Linked DNA regions of Homo sapiens: region 2 is linked to region 1. The links are contacts of gene promoters, found by promoter capture Hi-C in blood cells and fetal thymus (Javierre and others, 2016). All regions are on one chromosome and are shown on one strand. Each heading gives the region's core, a stretch centred on a gene start or on the middle of the fragment in contact. The rest is flanking DNA. Distances are from core to core; before and after follow the strand shown.

Region 1 (3,856 bases), core at 1,357-3,856:
GGGAAACTAAGATGCAGGGAGGGCAGGGAGCTTGCCCCAGGTCACACAGGTGGAGGGAGAATGGGAGCGGGAGCTCTTTCCCCTGTCCCAGGGTATATATGGCTGACCTAGCCACCGCTGAGTTCAAACGCTCTATGGCTCCCAATTTCCTTGCCTTGGCCACACTGAATTGTCAACTGATTCCAAAACATGGCCCCACACTCCCACCCCATCTGGAGTTACGGGGAATGCCTGCTCTGGGATCAGAGACCAGGGTTCAAACCTCAGTTCTGCCACTTACTAGCTATGTGACCTTGGACAAGTGACTTTATCTCTGAGCCTCCAGTTCCTCATGTGTAAAGCAATGCCTGCCCCTAGGGTTGTGCCAGTGTTCCATGAGACAGTGCACTCATATGTTAGTAACAAGCTGGCGGTTATCAGCCAATAAACGCTGCCTCTTGATTAATAAACGTGTATCCCTCAAAAGCCAGCTCAATTGCTACCTCCTTCAGGAAACCCTCTGAGGCCGCCCCATTGACAGCCTGCTCTTGCGCACTGATTGGACAGAGAAGTTCAGGTGCTGTCAGAAGCCTGGCCTTGGCTTATGGGAACTGGTGCACAGGGAAGTGGGGTAAAGGTGATGGGGAAGGTATAGGGCCTCTTGAGTGCAGTGCCAGAGGGGCCTTGGAACAGAGCAGTCTCCATGCCCTTGGTGCCAGACACTCAGACTGGCAAGGAAACCCCAGCCCCGACCTTGCTTCCCCATTGGATGGAAGTCTCCTGCTCAGGCCCCTCCTTCCCGGGACCCCCCACTCACCACCCGCTTGTCCATGTCTGCCCCGCTCTGGCCCTGCAGACAGGCCTGCAGCCGCTTGTGGATGTTGTGGGCTGCCCGCTTGGCCGGCTCCAGCCGCTGTTCTACCTGGGAAGGAGGTATGGAGGTTAAGGATCAAGAGAGGCTGTCTCCCCCTGAGCAGGAAACTTTCTCCTGTCCCCTGGGGACCCCATGGCCAACAGCTTGAGGAATGACTCAACCCAGGCCCCTACCTGGCGTCCCCGCCCCGGCCCTCTGCTCCGAGACAGCCTGCACAGGCCTGCCTTCCCACCTGCCCGGCCCAGGCACGTACCTGCAGCAGGTCCTCACCCAGGAACTCAGCGGTCTCCGGGGTGCTGCGGGGAGTGGTGGGGGGGGGGGGGAGAGTGCTTCTGCTGAGCCTGCCTGGGTTAGAACGCCCCCTACTTCCCTTCCCCGCAGCAGGGCACCTGGACCCCAGTGCTTCCACTGTCCCTCCCAGCTGAGGCCTGCCCTGGGTGGCCCAGTTGCTTCATCCCAGTCGGAGCACATTCCATGGGGGTGGGAATAGGATACATGGGTTTTTCCTCCTCCACCCAGGGCTGTGTCCTGAGAGAGGGCGGACAGATGAAACTAAAGGGGAGGCTGAGAGACCCACCCGGGGCCCAGCTTTGGGACACAGAAGCCTCTTTTCTGCCCACTCCCAAATCCTCAGCCCACCCCGGGATGAGGAGTATTAGCTGGCCCCAAGAACGGGAAGTGCAGGAGCTCAGACTCCTAGGCACAGTCACACAGCACTCTGGACTACAGCTGTGGGCAGGGGTGCACAGGCCCTTGGCCCCCACCTGGGGACACATGGGGGATGCCAAGGCCCACTGCAAGGTGGTCTGACTGTCCAGGCTATGTAGGCATCTGTGCCAGTGTGAGACTAGAACCAGGTCTCTGGACACCCAGTCCCCTCCCTGGACCCAGAGAATGGGGAACTCCTGAGGCTGGGGGAAGAGGAGCAGAGAAGACAGGCTCTGAGAGGCTCCCCAAACTTCCGGCCTCCGTGCCACCGGCTCAGAGGCTGGGGGTGGGAGCTGGGAGACCTGGGGATATTTCCACCTGAGTCCAGGAAAAGCAGAAACGAGACAGAAGCAGGAGGCCCCTGGGCTGGGGGGAGGGGGAGGGGGAGGGACGCTGCAGGCCAGGGGCAGGCCCCTCCTCCCACCAGGCCAGGACCCATCTCCTCCCCTCGCCCCAGGTCTGTGGCCCTAATCGACCCTCCTCCCTCCCCGGCCCAGCAAGCAGAGGTGGTGAACTGTCCCATTGTCCAGAGGGGACAAGTGAGGTCAGGAGGACCATCCACTTAGAGACTCGTGGAGGCAGAGAAGTCCCAGCGTCCTAGGGCAGAGAGCATTCTCCCGCCTGAAGCCCCCTCCAATCCGGTAAGGGGGGGCATCCCTTCCCCCAAAGGCCACCCTTGCTCCTCCAGCTCTGCCCGAGAGACGGGGGCGGCGTTCAGAGAGGAGGAAGAGAGAGCAGGAGTCTGGCCGCTCAGAGGGTGGCTGCCCAGCTGTCCCCAGCCTCCCCCACCCCCGTCTCCCCCGACCCTTTTACGACCCCTCAAGTCCTGCCGGGGTAAGAGTGGGGCTGGAAGCGGGTGACACTCACCGTCCCAAGCTGCCCGTCTGGGCCAGCTGCCGCATGCGGTGCAGCTGCCTCTTCATCATCTTGGGGGCGAGCTGGGGGCTGCGGGGTCACGGCGGGGGTCGCGGGCCCGGGGAGCCCCCGGTCCAGCCTGCCTCTCCTGCGGCGCGGCTCTTGCCCCGGATGGGTGGGCGGCGCTCTCGCTTCCTGGGCCGCCGCGCGGCTCTTGCTGGCGGCCGGCTCTCTCCTCCCCCGCTCACGACTCCGCCCCCGGCCCCCAGGTCACTCCTCTCTCCAAGTTGGTTTCCTCGCTCTTCCCCGGCTTCCGGGCCCCCGGGCGACCCCCGGCCGGGCCCCCGCTGCTGTGTGTCCGCCGGCCGCGGCCGTCCACAGGTTGTGCCCGGCTCCTCCTCCCCGCAGCGCCCCGCCCAGCCCCGGTGGCGGGAAGCAGGTAAGCCCATTCCTGCCCCTGCGCCCGCAACCCGCCCCAGGCGGGGTGCCTGCCCCACCCGCAGCCTGCAGACCCGAAGTATAAATAACCTTTGCATCCCTCGCAAAGAGGAAAGGGTACCAAGCGAAAGAGGGGTAGGCCTTTCTGACCTGTCCTGGCCTCTCTGGGCCTGCCGCGGATACTGCCTTGCACTCTCTTCCGCAGAGGACCTCTGGCCCCCTGGAACTAAACCCCCCACCACTGGATGACTGGCTGGGAGCTTTGGCTTCCTGGGGCCACGGGCTGCTGTGTGGCCGTGGACAAGCCCCTGGAACTCCGGACTCGCTGTTTCTAATGGTCTGATGGGCCAGCTGTCCTGGGCCTGCCCATTCTGCAGAGTGGACAAGACACCCCTGCCAGCTCCCTTTAAGGGAGGTGCGTGCCACCCCTCAGCCACCAGGAACCCTCCCAGAGCGGTTCGCGACACCCTGTTCTCCACATCTCCTGGCAGTTTGCTCCATCTGTGAAGCCCGTCTCCTCTCATTCCTCCTGGCAAACAGCCTCAGTCCCCCTTCCTTCTTGTAGGGCAATGATGTAGGTGCTGCTCTGACTGCCCCCAAACTCAGTAGTTCTCCTCTTTGGCCCTCCACTCAACACAGAGTTAGGCATACAGTAAGTGCTCCATAACTGCTGGTTTTACAAGATGTGAGCGCCTTTAGGAAACAGTAGGCTCTCCTTACCCTGCACCCCTGTGGCATCAGGAGCCGCAGGCGTGGGGAAGAGGGGAGGGTGTGCCCCAGAGTCCTGCCACACCCTCTGCACTTTGCTTTGTTAGTTTCAGTTTAGTTTGAGACTATTTGAGCCACTACTGTGTGCCGGTGCAGACTGTGTGCCGGTGCAGACTGGGCGCCTCTCAGAGGCAGGACCTTGGCCCCACACATCTCCATACTCCCAGCACCTAGCCCAGGGCCTGGCACACTCACTGGCTGCTTCTCTCCTCCCTAATGAGGCAGGACTCATTG
Region 2 (4,834 bases), core at 162-2,661, 90 kb before region 1:
AGGCTGGTCTCATTTTGAACTCCTGACCTCAGGTAATCCACCTGCCTTGACCTCCCAAAGTCTTGGCATTACAAGCATGAGCCACTGCACCCAGCCAATTTGTAATCTAATTGGAGGTGAGTGCGTTTCCTTACTCTGTGAGAGCTGAAGGCCTTAGAGTGAATTTTCCCCCGAACTGGGGTATAGGAGCTTCGATGAAGCAAGAGCCCAGACGTGACCCAGTGGGCTGTTCCTCCCTAATGGGGAGGACCAGGAGGACAATAGTGGAAACACCCGGTGCAGGGAAGCAAGGCACTTGTGTGTTCTCTTCCGGATGGATGCATTTTCCATACGAACTCCAGCTTGCTTGATGAGCATTCCTCCTGAGAACTCGCCTTCCTTTTTTCCCCCATGTAGAACTGAGAGAAAAGAGTGAGGGACTCAAGAAGATTCTGAAACCCCAACAGAGACCTGGCTTGTCCGATGCTGAAGCAACAGCGTCTCCTCGGGGCCACCTGTTCCCGAGGGTTGATGTGGCCGCACCAAGCATGACAAAGGAAACGTTTCCTTCGGAAGCTTAGATGGGTTCTTCGACCTCCAGAGAGAATTAAAGGAGCAAAGCCATCAAGTCTAGCAAATCCAGTGAAGGCTAGGTTTTGAATTCAAATGACCACAGGATGCTACGTGACTCTAAGAGATGCCAAAGGCATCTAAGGAAAAAAAAATTAAGATCAAGCCAAAACTCCCAATGCTTTGATGTGACAACCCTTTAAGAAAAATTTTCCAGACTCGGGACAATGCTTGGACAGAGTAGATGCTCAATAAATACATATCGATGAGGAAATAGGAGAAAATAAAAGCACACTCCTACAGCCACCCGCTCATAAGCTCCAGTCTGTCCCTTACACACACACTGCACAGTTTTAAAATTTTCCATATTCAGAGGATGAATGGTTTTCTACTTGGAAAAGGTGCCAGATAAGAGGAAAAATTTTAATTATTCAGTAAAATTATGAAAACTTCCCTAAAAGGTAAATAAGCTATTTCAAAGAGAGTAGAATTAAATGTATAGGAGTGATCGTGTAAAAACAAATGGTTAATAAAAGTGTAAACATATTTCTCATTTCTATTATTAATATAAACACCTTATCTCTCTGAAATTATCCTGGAAAAAAGGAAAGAAAATTAATTAACTTTGGCTTAAAGACCTTAATGTCCCTGCTGAGTTATTAGTTAAGACAAAGTTAGGAAAATTGACATTAGACAAGAAATAGTAATCATAAAAAGGTCAAAGACACTTTGGGAGGCCAAGGTGGGAGCATTGCTTGAGGCCAGGAGTTTGAGACCAACCTGGGCAACAAAGTGAGACTCCATCTCTACAAAAAGTAGAAAAATTAGCTGGGTATAGTGGTACACGCCTGTAGTCCCAGCTACTGAGGAGGCTGAGGTGAGAGAATCGCTTGAGCCTGGCAGTTTGAGGCCGCAGTGAGCCATGATCACGCCACTGCACTACTGCTGGGTGACAAAGCAAGACCCTGTTTCAAAAAAAAAAAAGGTCAGACCAGGCACGGTGGCTCACGCCTATAATCCCAGCACTTTGGGAGGCCGAGGTGGGTAGATTGCCTGAGCTCAGGAGTTCAAGACTAGCCTGGGCAACAGGGTGAAACCCTGTCGCTACTAAAAATACAAAAAAATTAGCCGGATGTGGCGGCATGCTCCTGTAGTCCCAGCTCCTCGGGAGGCTGAGGCAGGAGAACTGCTTGAACCCAGAAGGCAGAGGTTGCAGTGAGCCAAGATTGCACTACTGCACTCCAGCCTGGGTGACAGAGCGAGACTCCATCTCCAAACAAAAAAAAAAGTTAAAGACACTGAAGACTTTCAGGGTGAAACTACTCCATGATGTTACAATGGTGGATACTTGTCATACATTCATTCAAGCCTATAGGCTGTACATCACCAAGAGTGAACCCTAAACTTTGGGTGATTTCATAGTGTAGGTTCATGGATTGTAACAAATGTATCACCCTACTGCCCAGTACAGTGGCTCACCAGCACTTTGAGAGGCCAAGAAAGGAGGATCCCTTGAGGCCAGGAGCTGGAAACAAGCATACCTATCTAGTACAGGATATTGGTAGTGGGAGAGGCTGTGCATGGAACACTGCACTTTCTGCTCAATTTTGCTGTAAACCTAAAACTGCTCTGGGTTTTTGTTTTTAAGGCCAAAGAAAGAATTATACTAATGCTGGAGACCACACGGTTGTCATCTGGATATTAAATGATCAAGCTTACTGGAAAAGGAAATTTGAAGAACAAGAGATAAAGTTTCTTTTTTTTCTTTTTTTGAGATGGAGTTTCACTCTTGTTGCCCAGGCTGGAGTGCAATGACGCAATCTCAGCTCACTGCAAACTCCACCTCCCAAATTCAGGCAATACTGCTGCCTCAGCCTCCTGAGTAGCTGGGACTACAGGCGTGTGCCACTATGCCCGGCTAATTTTTTTTTTTTTTTTTTTTTTTGAGACGGAGTCTCACTCTGTCACCCAGGCTGGAGTGTAGTGGCATGATCTTGGCTCACTGCAAGCTCCAGTGCTGGGATTACAGGAGGGAGCCACTGCACCCAGCCAAGACTGATAAGGTTTCTCATGCAGATTCAAATCCAGGAGAAAACTTTCCCAAGGAGCAGCAAAGAGGAATTTTAGATACAAAATATTCCATACCCTTTAGGGTGATGAAAATGTTCTAAAGTTAGATTGTGGCAATGGTTGGACAACTTGGTAAATAAACTAAAAATTCGTTGAATTATATACATGGAAAGTTTTGAGACTTCCAGACTGCTTTTTGTTGCTGTTGTTCTCTTGACCCTAACTAATGGAATTCTAGCTCTGATTCTTGAAAACTCGAGGGCTGGAACTTCTGGGGAGAGAAACCTCAGCCTGATCAGGAGGAAATGCTCCCCTTCCAGGGGGCCAGTGCTGCTGACCAAGGAGACTCAAAAGACACCTGGACTTCAGGTGTCCCAGGATGTTTGACTGCTAAAAATCCATAATTCTGTGAGCTTTCTTTCTTAAAATAGGTAGCTCTGGCCATACATTTTTATTTTATTTTTATTTTTAGATGGAGTCTCACTCTGTCACCCAGGTTGGAGTGCAGTGGTACGATCTCGGCTCACTGCAAGCTCCGCCTCCCAGGTTCAAGCAATTCTCCTGCCTCAGCCTCCCGAGTTGCTGGGACTACAGGCGCCCGCCACCATGCCCAGCTAATTTTTTGTATTTTTAGTAGAGATGGGGTTTCACCGTGTTAGCCAGGCTGCTGTCGATCTCCTGACCTTGTGATCCGCCCGCCTCGGCCTCCCCAAGTGCTGGGATTACAGGCATGAGCCACCGTGCCCGGCCCTGGCCATACATTTTAAATTGACATAACTGTTTTCTGAAATGCATAGGGACCCATGAGTTTTCTTTGCCAAGGCAGGAAAAAATCATGGGTACTTTCTTCTTCTCCCTCATGCACGGAAGAAAAAAAAAAAAAACCCATGAGTCTGGATCAAAGGGTTTGAGAGTTCACTCTCATTTTGGCCGGGCACGGTGGCTCACTCCTGTAATCCTAGCACTTTGCGAGGCCGAGGCGGGTGGATCACTTGAGGTCAGGAGTTCGAGACCAGCCTGGCCAATATGGCGAAACCCCGTCTCTAGTAAAAATACAAAAAAATTAGCCGGGTGTGGTGGCACGTGCCTGTAATCCCAGCTACTCGGGAGGCTGAGGCAGGAGAATCGCTTGAACCCAGGAGGTGGAGGTTGCAGTGAGCCGAGATTGCACCATTGCGCTCCGGCCTGGGCAACAAGAGCAAAACTCCACCTCAAAAAAAAAAACAAAAAATAAAAAATAAAAAGACAGTTCACCCTTATTTGAATGAATGTGCTCATGTTCCCCTCCCTTACAGATGAGGAAACTGAGGCTCAGGTAGGTTAACTCACTATATCAGGTCATACGAGTTGACATGTGGCTTTGACCCAGGATTTGGACTCAGCCCTCCTGACTGCAGTCTTTGCTGTTAACCACTGGGCTGTGCATGACATCACTTAACCACACACACACACAAAACAGAAAACTCCCAATATGCAGAAACAGAGAAATGGAGCGATTTGCCCAAGGTCACACAGCCGGTAAATGGCAAGCCAGGGGGATTTGAACACTTTCTTTTGGCACCCTAACCCTTCACCTGTCCTGCTGCCGAGCCTCCTCCCCAGCCCACCTGGCTGACCCCACCCCCGGGCTCACCTGCGCTCTTGCCCGAAGAGGCGCTCCACCTCTGCACGGCCAGGGCTGTGGGTGCGGCCCCCGCTGCTGCACTGCGCCTGGGGCCCTGGCTGTCTCTGGGCCAGCCTCCTGGGTGGGGGCAGGTCGGCCAGCACAGTGTACTCCTCCCGCTCCAAGTTGTGCCTGGTCTCCCCGGGAGGCGCTGAGCCCCGGGAGCCCCCAGAGCTGCCCGGTGAAGGTGAGGGTGCCAGGAACGCTAGGTCACTGGGTGGGTGGCGGGGTGGGGAGGAGGCTCGGGGTGCATCCCGGTGCCCGATGCACACTTGGGGGATCAGCACTGGGGAGCCATGCAGAGAGTCAGTGGAGGGGGCCAGGCTCTCCATACTAGTTCCAGGGGGATCCTGGAAGAAGAGGGATGGCTCAGGAGCCTGGCGTGGTGGGGATGAGAAGGAGGGTGCATCCCGGTGCCCAATGCACACAGGGGTGGGGATGTGGGGGCACTCGTGCAGAGAGTCCATGGAAGGGACAAGGCTCTCTGTGCTGGCCCTGGGGAGGTCCTGGAATAAGAGGGAAGGCTCTGGGGCCTGGCGTGGTGGGGAGGAG

Evidence for each region. Contacts are between HindIII fragments. The CHiCAGO score rates a contact against its expected background, and 5 or more counts as called.
Region 2: a fragment that was not itself captured here is called in contact with the fragment with the promoter of SH3BP1 in region 1 in 4 of 17 cell types (endothelial precursors, M0 macrophages, M1 macrophages and 1 more); the score reaches 10.5 in endothelial precursors.

The regions. Positions count from the first base shown.
Region 1 is chr22:37,638,419-37,642,274 of GRCh38, reverse strand. SH3BP1 (SH3 domain binding protein 1) reads right to left here and starts at 2,606. Exons shown (of 18, transcript NM_018957.6): 1 at 2,429-2,606; 2 at 1,107-1,149; 3 at 797-901. The coding sequence starts at 2,487. PDXP-DT (PDXP divergent transcript) reads left to right here. Exons shown (of 6, transcript NR_109952.1): 6 at 1-443. RefSeq lists silencers at 2,389-2,828, 2,859-3,008, 3,639-3,856. The HindIII fragment of the contact is 8,436 bases long and covers 1-3,856 here.
Region 2 is chr22:37,725,922-37,730,755 of GRCh38, reverse strand. It overlaps TRIOBP (TRIO and F-actin binding protein), which reads right to left. Exons shown (of 24, transcript NM_001039141.3): 7 at 4,253-4,834. Among named protein-coding and RNA genes, the nearest start is that of TRIOBP, 31 kb to the right of the region's middle. RefSeq lists an enhancer at 4,433-4,834. The HindIII fragment of the contact is 1,708 bases long and covers 558-2,265 here.